3 separate regions of the Homo sapiens genome follow, and all the other regions are linked to region 3. The links are contacts of gene promoters, found by promoter capture Hi-C in human tissues and cell types (Jung and others, 2019). All regions are on one chromosome and are shown on one strand. Each heading gives the region's core, a stretch centred on a gene start or on the middle of the fragment in contact. The rest is flanking DNA. Distances are from core to core; before and after follow the strand shown.

Region 1 (3,447 bases), core at 360-2,859, 200 kb before region 3:
CCTGGACAGGGGCCAGCTGAAGGGATGGGGAGCCCAGTGCCCCAACCCCTTCCCCGGCTCTGAAACCCTGTAGATCCTCCCAGAGCCTTTCAGGTAGGGCCCTGGGACAAGCCCATGGCCACAGGCCTGGCTGTGGACAGAAAGCAGAGCCCAGTGGGAAACCACAGAGGACAGCCTGATTGAATAAGTGCAGGGCCCAAGGCTGGTCAGCCCACAGACTGCGGGCACCTGTCCCTGTGACCTGCTGCCCAGGATCCAGCTGCAGGACCTCTGGGGGGAGCTGGCTGGCGGGAAAGGAAGGGATGGCGGCTAGGCCTCCAGGCTGGACCTAAGCCCAGGGGTAGGCACCCCTGGCCTATTCCCAGGTAGCCCCATCTTAGACTGAGGAGCCACAGAGACAGCCTGGATCATTGATTTGAACTCCTTTCTTTACATATGGACCAACTGAGGCCCAGAGGGACAGCTACGTGTCTGTGTCCACACCGCGGACCAGCAGCAAGGCCAGAGTAGGGAGCTGGTGATGGGATGCCTCCTCTTCTGGATCTTAGCCACCTGAGGGGCACAATGCCCCCGAGAGCACCTACACGATGGGGTCTGCAGGCACCAGGCCAAGTGGATACGCACAGCTGGAATGGTGGGGTGAACCTTCATGGGGACCCAGCCCCACCCCGACCCCAGCCCCACCCCTCTCGGCAACACCGTGAACTCTTCACTCTTGTACAGCAGACATCCCGCTAGTCCCAGCTCCATCACTGATATGCTGTGTGATATCTGCAAGTCCCTGCCCTCTCTGGGCCTCAGTTTCCTTACCTACAGGATGGGGAGAGGCACTAAAAAGATTCCTGAACGCTCTAACAGGTGGGCAGACCTCCCGAACCCAAACCAATCCAACCCCCACAAGAGCCCTGGGAGAGCGGGGGTGGGAAGGTGGACACCACCCCCACCTAAGGTACTGAAACTGAAGCCCCAGCCCTGCGTCGCCTTAGTCCTCACTTAGTCGACCCCTCCCAAGCCGCTGGCCCTGCGAACCGCCCCGCTCCACCTAGCGACGGGCGGAGGGTGGAGGGGGTTCCCGGCCCGCGCCGCGCGGTCCCGCCCACCCCACCGCATGGCCCCCATTGGCAGTCGCCGCGGCTCTGGGCAGGGCGCCGTGCTCTGATTGGCCAGCGCCGCCCGTCCATCCCGCATTCGCCATGGCGACCACGTTGGGTCCCCCGGGAGAGTCCCAAATTCCGTCCCCGCCCGCCGCCCCCTCCCGTCCGGCCCGGGCCGCGGCATTCCGGAGGCGCCTCCCCTCCCCCATCACCCCGCGGCCCCTCCCCACCGGAGACCTGGGGTTCCGGGGGCTGAGGGAGGCCGGGGAGGCGTCTAGAAAGTTCTGCTCTGAGTTCGGGGGTTGCCGCGGGCGCCCCGACTGTGTCTGCTCCTCCAGCACGCCCCACAACTTAACCCCTTCCTTCCCGCGGAAGGCGCGCGGCCTGGAGCAAGTTCCCGGGCCGCCTTGGCCTGCCGCCCCCCGGCCTGCCGCCCCCGCTCACCTCGGGCCGGGACTTGCGGGCTCCGTACGTCCCAGCCGCTGCGGCGGGGTAGAGCGGGCACCGTGCAGCTGCGACCGCCGCCGGAGGGGCCGAGGGAGGGCCGCGGAGTCTCCTCCTCCCTCCCGGGGGGAGGGGAAGCAGGGGGAGCGGCGGGGCCCCCGAAGCGGTCGCAGGCTGCGGCCCCGCTGTGACCCCGGCCCACCGAGCTGCTGGGGTGGGGGCTCCAGCCTAACTTCGGGGCGAGGGGTGCGGGCCGGGGCGGTGGGCTCTGCTGCAGAGCGGGCCGTACCCCAACGGAGGCCCCACCCCCGTGAGGGGCCGAGAGTTGCGGGGGGGCTCGGCTTTCTTGGTTCAGGTTTCCTCAGCGCCAACTACGTACTAGGCGCCCCCAGCAGAAACGGCCACCGCGGGTCCCAGCTCGGCACGTGGAGCGAGCTTACCAAGTCTTCACTGTTGTTACCTGCATTTTTCCCTGGGCCAGCTCTGCCACCGAGTGGAAGTGGGCCAACAAGTCTGTGCCCATCGGGCCTCAGTTTCTCTTTCTGTACAACAGAAGGGTTGACGAAAGCAACCTTGCGCTTGTTAAGAGGTGGGGGGCGCGGGGAGCACTCGGCCCGGCGGGCGGAGACTTTTCTCTGCATTGCGATGGTGGTTGGCAGGCCCTGGGGAATTACGGTACTTCGCCTTCGGGGACGCCCAGCTGTTTTGGGGCTTTCTCTCTATTGGGGGTAGGATGTTTGTGGTCTTGACTGGAAAGCCGGGACAGGCGTCTGGAGGACTCCCCACTACATCCTGTACCCTGGAAGGCCCCCGAGGTGAATCTATTTAAAAGAAGACCAACAATTCACCAAGATGGTGGGGAAAACCTGGCCTGATTGGGATTTTACCTAGAAAAAGAAGCTAAATATTACGAAGATAAATTAGTTTTACCCCGTGATTAACGGAGTTTAGATTATGATTGCAACCACGCACGCCTTAAAATGAACCAAGAATGAATCAGATGTTAACACTGGAAGTCTTGCTTTTTCTTGTAATAGTTGAGTATGTAGCATCCTTCCCTTCTGAACTGGTTTTTGCAGTAAGAGATTCATTTTTGCAAAAATATTTGAGAGCTTCCTCAAACTCAAGGATCACTCTGAATCCTTTGATAGTCCAGTGCCTTTTTTCGGGTCTGGGTCACTTCCCTTGCAGACGTTCCCTTTCTCTGTGGGCAGCGGCTGTTCCATTTCTCCTGCTTTGCTTCCACCAACTTCATGAAATCCCATACGTTGCAAGACTGGCAGTTTCACTTGTCGATTCATTTGCTTTGTATTTGTTATGCGTGGCTGAATGTTGAAAGCGTCTGTTCACCAGCCAGAGATAGATAGGAGATGTATGTGGGGTTTGAGTACTCAGAGGACAAGGGCATCCACATTTTACAGCTGAGGAAATGAAGGCTCAGAGAGGCTCTTGGCTCAGACTTGCACAAGGTCCTACAGCCAGTAACAGCCTTGGATCAAGAGCCCAGAGGTCTTGCCCAGAGTTTTTGGAGGTGGAAATGGGGCTGGGGAAGGTGGTGGAGACTGAGTTGATGGTGCACCTGAACTCCAGCTATAACCTCATCACTATCAGGCCTTCTCTCCTTAGGAAGAAGCAGTAAATATTGTCCTGAGGATGTCTTTTGCAGGGGCTAGGGTGGGGTGACGTGACCCACCCGATCGTAGAACCAAAGTAGGTGCTGGCCACAGGTTTTGGCAGCTCGCATGATGTTATCTTAGTTACCTAGGGGCTGGGTGTTATTACCACCCTCTCATAATGAGAAAAGTGAAGATCAGAAATGACTGGACTGGGCACGGCGGCTCACACTTGTAATCCCAGTGCTTTGGGAAGCCAAAGCGGGAGGATCGCCTGAGGCCGGGAGTTCAAGACC
Region 2 (3,237 bases), core at 466-2,965, 140 kb before region 3:
GAGGCCGGCATGCTTAGAACATCAACCTCAATTTTCCTCCCCACAGGGTCTGGCGGGGAGGCAGGGAGCAAGGTCGTTAAGGGTGGGCAGGGTGAGGGGGAGATTCCCTGACAGCCTGGGTTCTGCCCCTCACTTGCTACAGCCCCATGCAAGCCTCTTGGCCTCTCTGAGGCTCTGTATTCTCACCTGTCAAATGGGGGTTGTCCTGGGTGTTACTTCAAAGGCTGATGAGAAAGGAGTGAGTGGGCTGGCTCGCAGCCTGGCGTGACAAGCAATGCATAAATGTATGCCGTATGAGTCACCTGTCCACAGTGGCCCCAGCAGCTCTCTCTAGCAGGGCTTGGCCAAGACTAGGCCCTCAGAGTGTAAGAAAACTCCTGGTTTGGTGCCTAGCACACTATAGATGTGGCAAACTGTGTCCAAGAACGTTTTGATGGGAGCCTGCCTGGATGACAGAAGATCAGAGTGTGCTGGAATGTCCCACCCTTTCCAGCTTCCCGCAGCCAAGCCAGGCTCTGGGGTGATCATTCCCATAGCAACCACCAGGGGTCAGGGCTGGCCACTTCTGCCTTCTTCCCTCATCCTAGCGCCTGTGGGTGGCGATGACATCCCTGCCATCTATGAGGTGGAGCATTTCCAACAAGAGCAGGTCTGAGGCCCTGGCTTGACTTTCCCAGTCCTGTTAAAGAAGAACATTGGTAAGTGTGTCCATCCATCTGTTGGGCTGTCTGTTGTTCTAACATTCACCCATCCATTTATACTTTTGTCCATTCATCCATTTATCTGTTCATTCTTTTGTCTGCCCATCCATCCATTATCGCTTTATCTTCTATTTCCTCATCTATCCACTCATCTGTTCCTTCATCCAGCCATTCATCTGACTATCCATCTGTCCATTGTCCTCCACCCGTCATCCATCCGTCCAGCCTCCATCCATTCATCCGTCCATCTATCCATTCTAATGTCTGCGTGTCCATCTGTCCATCTATCCATCCATCCCTCCATCCATCCATCCTTCCTTCCTCCTTCATCCACTCATCTGTCCATTCTAATGTCTGTGGGCTCTTCTCTTCATCCATCCATTCATCCATCCATCCATCCATCCATCCATCCATCCATCCAATGTTCAAACACCTGTCCATCTACTCTCTGTCTATCCAACATGCAGTGAGACCTTCTGTTGAGCCAGGACTTGCTCAGCTCCAGGGTACCCTATGAAGGAAGGAGACCCAGTTCCCGTTTCTGCCACTTCACTCCCCCACCTTTGGCTCACCATTTGCTGGGGAGTGGAGAAGTATCAGGCAGTGATAACATAATGAGATGTGTGTGGTCAAGCTCGGAGGTGCAAAAATGTCATATTAATTTTTATGTCACATTAGACTCCAAGGCCTCTCATCCCCTGCATGGGTAGGAAATTCAACTCGTCCTTTATGGAGAAGGCCATTGGGTTAAACAAAAATCTGGGTGGCTTAGGTTGCTTGCTCCTGGAAGGAAAACGGGGGAAGGGCCTGGGGTTAGACTCCGTGGTCTCAACGTGGTTCTCTACACCCTCCAGGCTTGGTCCAGGGAAAGCTTTGCTAAGGCTGAGAAGCCTGCTTCTCAGAAGCACGCCAGACCTGCTTTCAGGCTGTGCCTGGCACAGTGGGAGCCTCTGGTCTCAGACAGGCCCTGCATTTGTTCCCTTACCCAGGAACCCAGGCTGCAAGAACACAGACCTCTCTGGAGTGCCTGGAGCCTGTGGGCTTGGCTGCTTCCGCTAGCAGATGTTAGAGTGGGGAGAGAGGTGTCACCCAGCCTGGCCCGGGTGGTGCAGGGCAGGAGGGTTTCCTGTGGGAGGTGACTTCTACACCAAGACCACAGTGTTGAACAGGGTTAGGCAGGAGAAAAGGGAGGGGAAGTGGCACAGGCTTGGGGTTGGGTGTGGTGGGGGTAGAGAGAGAATGCAGGAGAGTGGGCTTGGTGAGCAGAGTGGCGGTGGGAGGAGCTGGAGAGAAACCAGAAAAATAAGGAAGAGCCAATTATGGTGCTCGGGAAGTAGGGAGATACTGAAGCTCTTTGACCAGGGGAGTTCCTGATCCAAGTGGTGTTTCAAGAAGATCACTCTGGCAGGGGGTGGAGGCAGGTTGGAGTGGCATCCAGGGAGGAGTAGCTGTCCTAGATTGTGCTTGGGCATCAGCAGCAGGTGATGATGAGCCACCACACCTGGGTCATGCTGCCAGCAGGAATAAAGGGAGGGGCGAGGCTCTGGGAGGTGCTGGGAGGTAGAACCCACACTGCAGGTCAGGTGAGGGTGAGGGTGAGGTTGGAGCATCATCAAGGCTGATGTCTTGGACTCTTGGGTAGTTGGGGTGGCCTGTCTGTAACTAAGATGGGGAACCCAACGGAGGGAAGAGAATTGGTGATGTGTGTGGCTCGGTTTGATTGATAGATTGGTGGATTTTCAGAGACAGGATCTACTCTGTTGCCTAGGCTGGAATGCAGTGGCACAATCAAAGCTCACTGCAGCCTCAAACTCCTTGGCTCAAGTGATCTTCCCATCTCAACCTCCTGAGTAGCTGCAACTACCGGTGTGCACCACAATGCCCAGCTATTTTTAAATTTTTCTGTAGAGATGGGGGTCTTGCTTCATTGCCTAGGGTGGTCTTGAACTCCTGGCTTCAAGTGACCCTCCTGCTGCAGCCTCCAAAAGCATAAGGATTATATGTGTGAACCACCATGCCTGGCCTAGTTATTTATTTTTAAGCATTAAAAAATGGTAAACATTTAAGCATTAAAAAATGGAGAATACACAGGATATGCCCATAGTTTAACAAAAATGATAAAGCAAATCCCTGTGTAACTACAACCCTGGTAAAGAAAGAGAACATTGCCACCACCCCAGAAACCCCCACCGCCAATCCTCCATCACAACCTCACTGTGCTGGAGAGGGAAACGTTATCCCGACACTTAGAGGAATCTCTCTCTCACTTTTATTTATGGTTTTACCACCTGTACAGTTTTAAACAATACAGTTTTAGCTCTTTAGTTTTAGTTTTAAAACAATACAGTTTTAGTTTTGCTTATTTTGGAAGATTACATGAATGAAACCCACCTTCTTTTACTCAATGTTATGTTTGTAAGATTCATCTGCATTGCTGTATGTAGAAGTAGTTTGTTCCTTTTCAATGCTGTATACTATTCCAATATGTGAACATACTATGATTTATTAATCCATTAATTTCCTGGTGGATGTTGGG
Region 3 (3,367 bases), core at 721-3,220:
AATTTTCTTAGCAGTGGTGATAACAATGGTTATTGTAGAATAAGGGCTTTATTTTTATTTTTTGAAATGGATCTCACTCTGTCGCCCAGGCTGGAGTACAGTGGCCCCATCCCAGCTCACCGCAACCTCTGCTTCCCAGTTTCAAGTGATTCTCCTGCCTCAGCCTCCCCAGTAGCTAGGATTATAGGCACGTGCGCCACCACGCCCGGCTAATTTTTGTATTTTTTTGTAGAGACGGGGTTTCACCATGTTGGCCAGGTTGGTCTCGGACTCCTGACCTCAGGTGATCCGCCCGCCTTGGCCTCCCAAAGTGCTGGGATTGCAGGCGTGAGCCACCGCGCCTGGCCAAGGGCCTTATTTTTAAGAGATACATGCTCAGTATTTGGTGTTGGGGTGAAATGTCATATCTACAATTTTCAAATGGTTCCGAAAAGACACACAGACGAAGCAAATATGGCAAACTGTTAACAAGTACTGGAATCTACGTGGTATCATTATATTGTCTTTTAAAGTTTTCTCTGTTTAGTTTTCTTTTTATAATACAAAATTAAGGGGAACTGCAGGCTAGACAGTTTTGATCCGATGTTATTCTGCTAATCTTTTAAAGGTGTCTTGCGGTGACTCACGCCTGTAATCCCAGCACTTCGGGAGGCTGGGGCGGGTGGATCACCTAAGGTCAGGAGTTCAAGACCAGCCTGGCCAAAATGGAGAAACCCCGTCTCTACTAAAAATATAAAAACTAGCCTTAGCCCGTCGTGGTGGCGGGCGCCTGTGGTTCCAGCTACCCAGGAGGCTGAAGCAGGAGAATCTGAAGCAGAAGGCTGAAGCAGAAGGCAGAGTGGGGACTCCCCCACGCTTTGGCTTTCAGAACAAGGGTTCGAATTCTGGGGCTATTACTTTCTGACCGTGTGGTTTTCTGCAAGCATCTTAACCCGGGCCTCAGTTTCCTCATCTGTAAATGGGAACAGGAATTCCTACCTCTTATGGTTGTACTGGGCGTTATGTGAGCCCAAGGAGCCCTGACCTGCGGTGAGAGGCTGGAGGCCGAAGGGCAAGGTTCGAGGGGCTCTGGGTGCCTGGGACAACCTCTGGGCAACAGGGAGAGGCGGCTGCGGGGCCAAGTCCCTCCTAAGCGGCCACGCGAGAGGCCCTGAGTCGAGAAGGGTTACGGCGCTTCCCAGAGCCCACCCCGCCCAACGTGTCACAAATAAAGCTGGCCTTTCTCCGATTCCCTGATTGCAGCCATTCAGGGAGCAGCCCCTTGCCCACGCATCCATTAGTCGAGGCGGTGGCTGCGTGTGCAGTGCTACAGGGTTCAGCGCCTGCCTCGGCTCCGGAATCAGGCTGTTTCCTTCTAGACCTCCCATGGGGGATTCAAGCCGGCGTCCGGGTCAAAGAACAGGGACAAAGTCCTCCTGCCACGGGGGACCATCTGCAGGCAAAGTGAAGAATGAGGAGCTTCGGCAAAATGCCGACTAAGGCCTCCTTAGGTTTTGCCCCACTCCAAGATGGAAGGCCTGAGGCTTCACACTGCCCCCGAAGTTCCTTTCCCATTGGCTATCTGGGAATTGAGTTTTCCAATAATGCGGACGCTGATTGGTCAATCCAGGACGGTTGCTCAAGCCATTGGCGCAGCCGCCATTGGAGGGCGGCTCTCAAAAGTTTTCAGACACAAATTAGGTTCGAGGGAGGAAACGGAGAGGAAAGGGAAAACTTGAGACGGAGGCGGGACTAAGGAAACGGCAGCTTGCATTGGTTTATTAGAGGCCAAGGGGCGGCTCTTGAACGTTCCTTCCTCTTGATTAGTCCTATTTAGGAAAAGAGGGCGGGTACTGAGGAAAAGCGGCAGAAGCGCCTGCTTCCATTGGTCAGTCCTGGCAGGAGGCGGAGCACCCGCGGCAGCTGATTGGTGCGGGAGGCAAGGTGGGCGGGGCTCTGAGCCGGAGGTTTTGTTGTGAGGGTCGGTTGTCAAGCAGCGGCCAATCAAGGCAGGGGATGGAGGCAAGTGGGGGTCGCGCCTGGAGCGGAGCCTCGGCCTCCGGAGCCGCAGCTGCAGGTGGAGTGGGCAAGGGGACGAGGTGGCGAGGGGACGGTGGGCCCTGGGCTGGGCCGAGCCAGGCGGGGCTGGCTGGGCTTGCGGGCAGAGAGCTCTGAGCGTGGGGAGGCTAGAGCCCGTACTCCGCAAGCAGAGGGTTGGGAGGATCAGCCGTGGCCGAGGGACCTGCCCCCGCCCCCGGACGAGAGGGGTCGGGGTGGAGGCCGGAGGGGGCAAAACCAGGGAGGCCGGAAGCAGAGCTGGGGGTCTGCAGAAGGACAGGTAATGAATAGGGAGAAGAGAAGTAGGAGAATGAATGAATGGGAGACCCCGCGAGCATATGGGAAAGGGCAGTAACGGGAGTCTGGCGAGGCAGGGGCCACGTGAGGGATATCGGGAGACAGGATGTGCATAAGTGGGAGACTCAGGGGGCAGGGAGAAAAGGGGGTGTGAACGGAGGACTAGAGAGGCAGACCCGGGGACCCAGGAGAAAGGGGACGGAGGGGAGCGGGCTCATGGGAAAGAGGTGAAGTGGCTGTGGGAAGGAGGTGGGAGGCTCCATGAGGAGGCCTTTTAGAGTTGAAGAGTCATAGCCACTTACGCCCAGACTGGAGGCCTAGTTCCTAGCTCTGTCCTTGGGAATCGCAGGGAGCAGGAGCGGTTCCCTTGCCAGGAGCTGGGGAATTGGACCATCAGGGTCGTCTTCGAGATTCTTTCCAAGGAGGACTTCAGTGGCCGTCTCTGGGATGCCTTTCCTAGGCCCCTAAGCTTAGCTTCTGACTCCGCTCTCCCACATCCCACACGTCAGACAAAAACAACGACTCGCAGGAAATCTATGTGAATTGCAGACACGTGGTCTTCTCCGCCCCACTGCGGCTGCTGCACTTTAGGCAGCCAGCATCCCGGAACAGAGCTGCAGCTCATTATCCTGGCCTCTGGGAGGAGTTTCTTTTTCCTTACGTTCCAAATCACCCTACCTGAGGTGCCCCCTCTGCAGATTCCCAAACCTAATTTGCAGTGCAGCTTCTGACTCTGGTGGCTTTGGTGGGTGTCAGTCTTTATCAAGTGGTCTTGGTGATCCAGGGAGCAACAGCTCTTACCAAGCATTTTCTAACATGACGTCACCTCTTGTTTGTATTGCAGCCCTGTATTGAGCTGAGATGGCTCGAGCCTAACATTCCATGATCCAGGATCGTGACAGATGTGCACAGGCTGCTGCTGTTGCTGCTGTGGGTAATTTGGAACCACGAGGCACCCCAGGGCCAGAAGACGAGGCATTCTGTCTGCCTGGATGTGTGGGAACTCTCTGCCAACTTGATTGGTGGATCTGGG

Evidence for each region. The method cuts DNA at HindIII sites, captures the fragments that hold promoters and counts their contacts. A contact is called where the count stands out against the background at its distance.
Region 1: a contact is called between the fragment with the promoter of CCDC102A here and the fragment with the promoter of KATNB1 in region 3, in 1 of the 25 tissues and cell types used here (stomach).
Region 2: a contact is called between a fragment that was not itself captured here and the fragment with the promoter of KATNB1 in region 3, in 5 of the 25 tissues and cell types used here (dorsolateral prefrontal cortex, liver, mesendoderm cells and 2 more).

Annotation. Positions count from the first base shown.
Region 1 is chr16:57,534,962-57,538,408 of GRCh38, forward strand. It overlaps CCDC102A (coiled-coil domain containing 102A), which reads right to left and starts at 1,610. Exons shown (of 9, transcript NM_033212.4): 1 at 1,539-1,610. It also overlaps a transcript of ADGRG5 not described here. RefSeq lists a silencer at 903-1,852. The HindIII fragment of the contact is 34,087 bases long and covers 1-3,447 here.
Region 2 is chr16:57,591,027-57,594,263 of GRCh38, forward strand. The region is part of intron 1 of LOC105371291 (a long non-coding RNA gene); the gene reads right to left. Among named protein-coding and RNA genes, the nearest start is that of ADGRG1, 36 kb to the right of the region's middle. RefSeq lists an enhancer at 1,886-1,965. The HindIII fragment of the contact is 8,264 bases long and covers 1-3,237 here.
Region 3 is chr16:57,733,800-57,737,166 of GRCh38, forward strand. KATNB1 (katanin regulatory subunit B1) reads left to right here and starts at 1,971. Exons shown (of 20, transcript NM_005886.3): 1 at 1,971-2,056; 2 at 3,179-3,367. It overlaps LOC107984852 (a long non-coding RNA gene), which reads right to left and starts at 2,845. Exons shown (of 2, transcript XR_001752221.3): 1 at 2,637-2,845; 2 at 30-1,808. RefSeq lists enhancers at 1-799, 1,429-1,538, 1,518-1,812, 1,559-1,728, 3,097-3,166 and a silencer at 2,039-2,278. The HindIII fragment of the contact is 17,781 bases long and covers 1-3,367 here.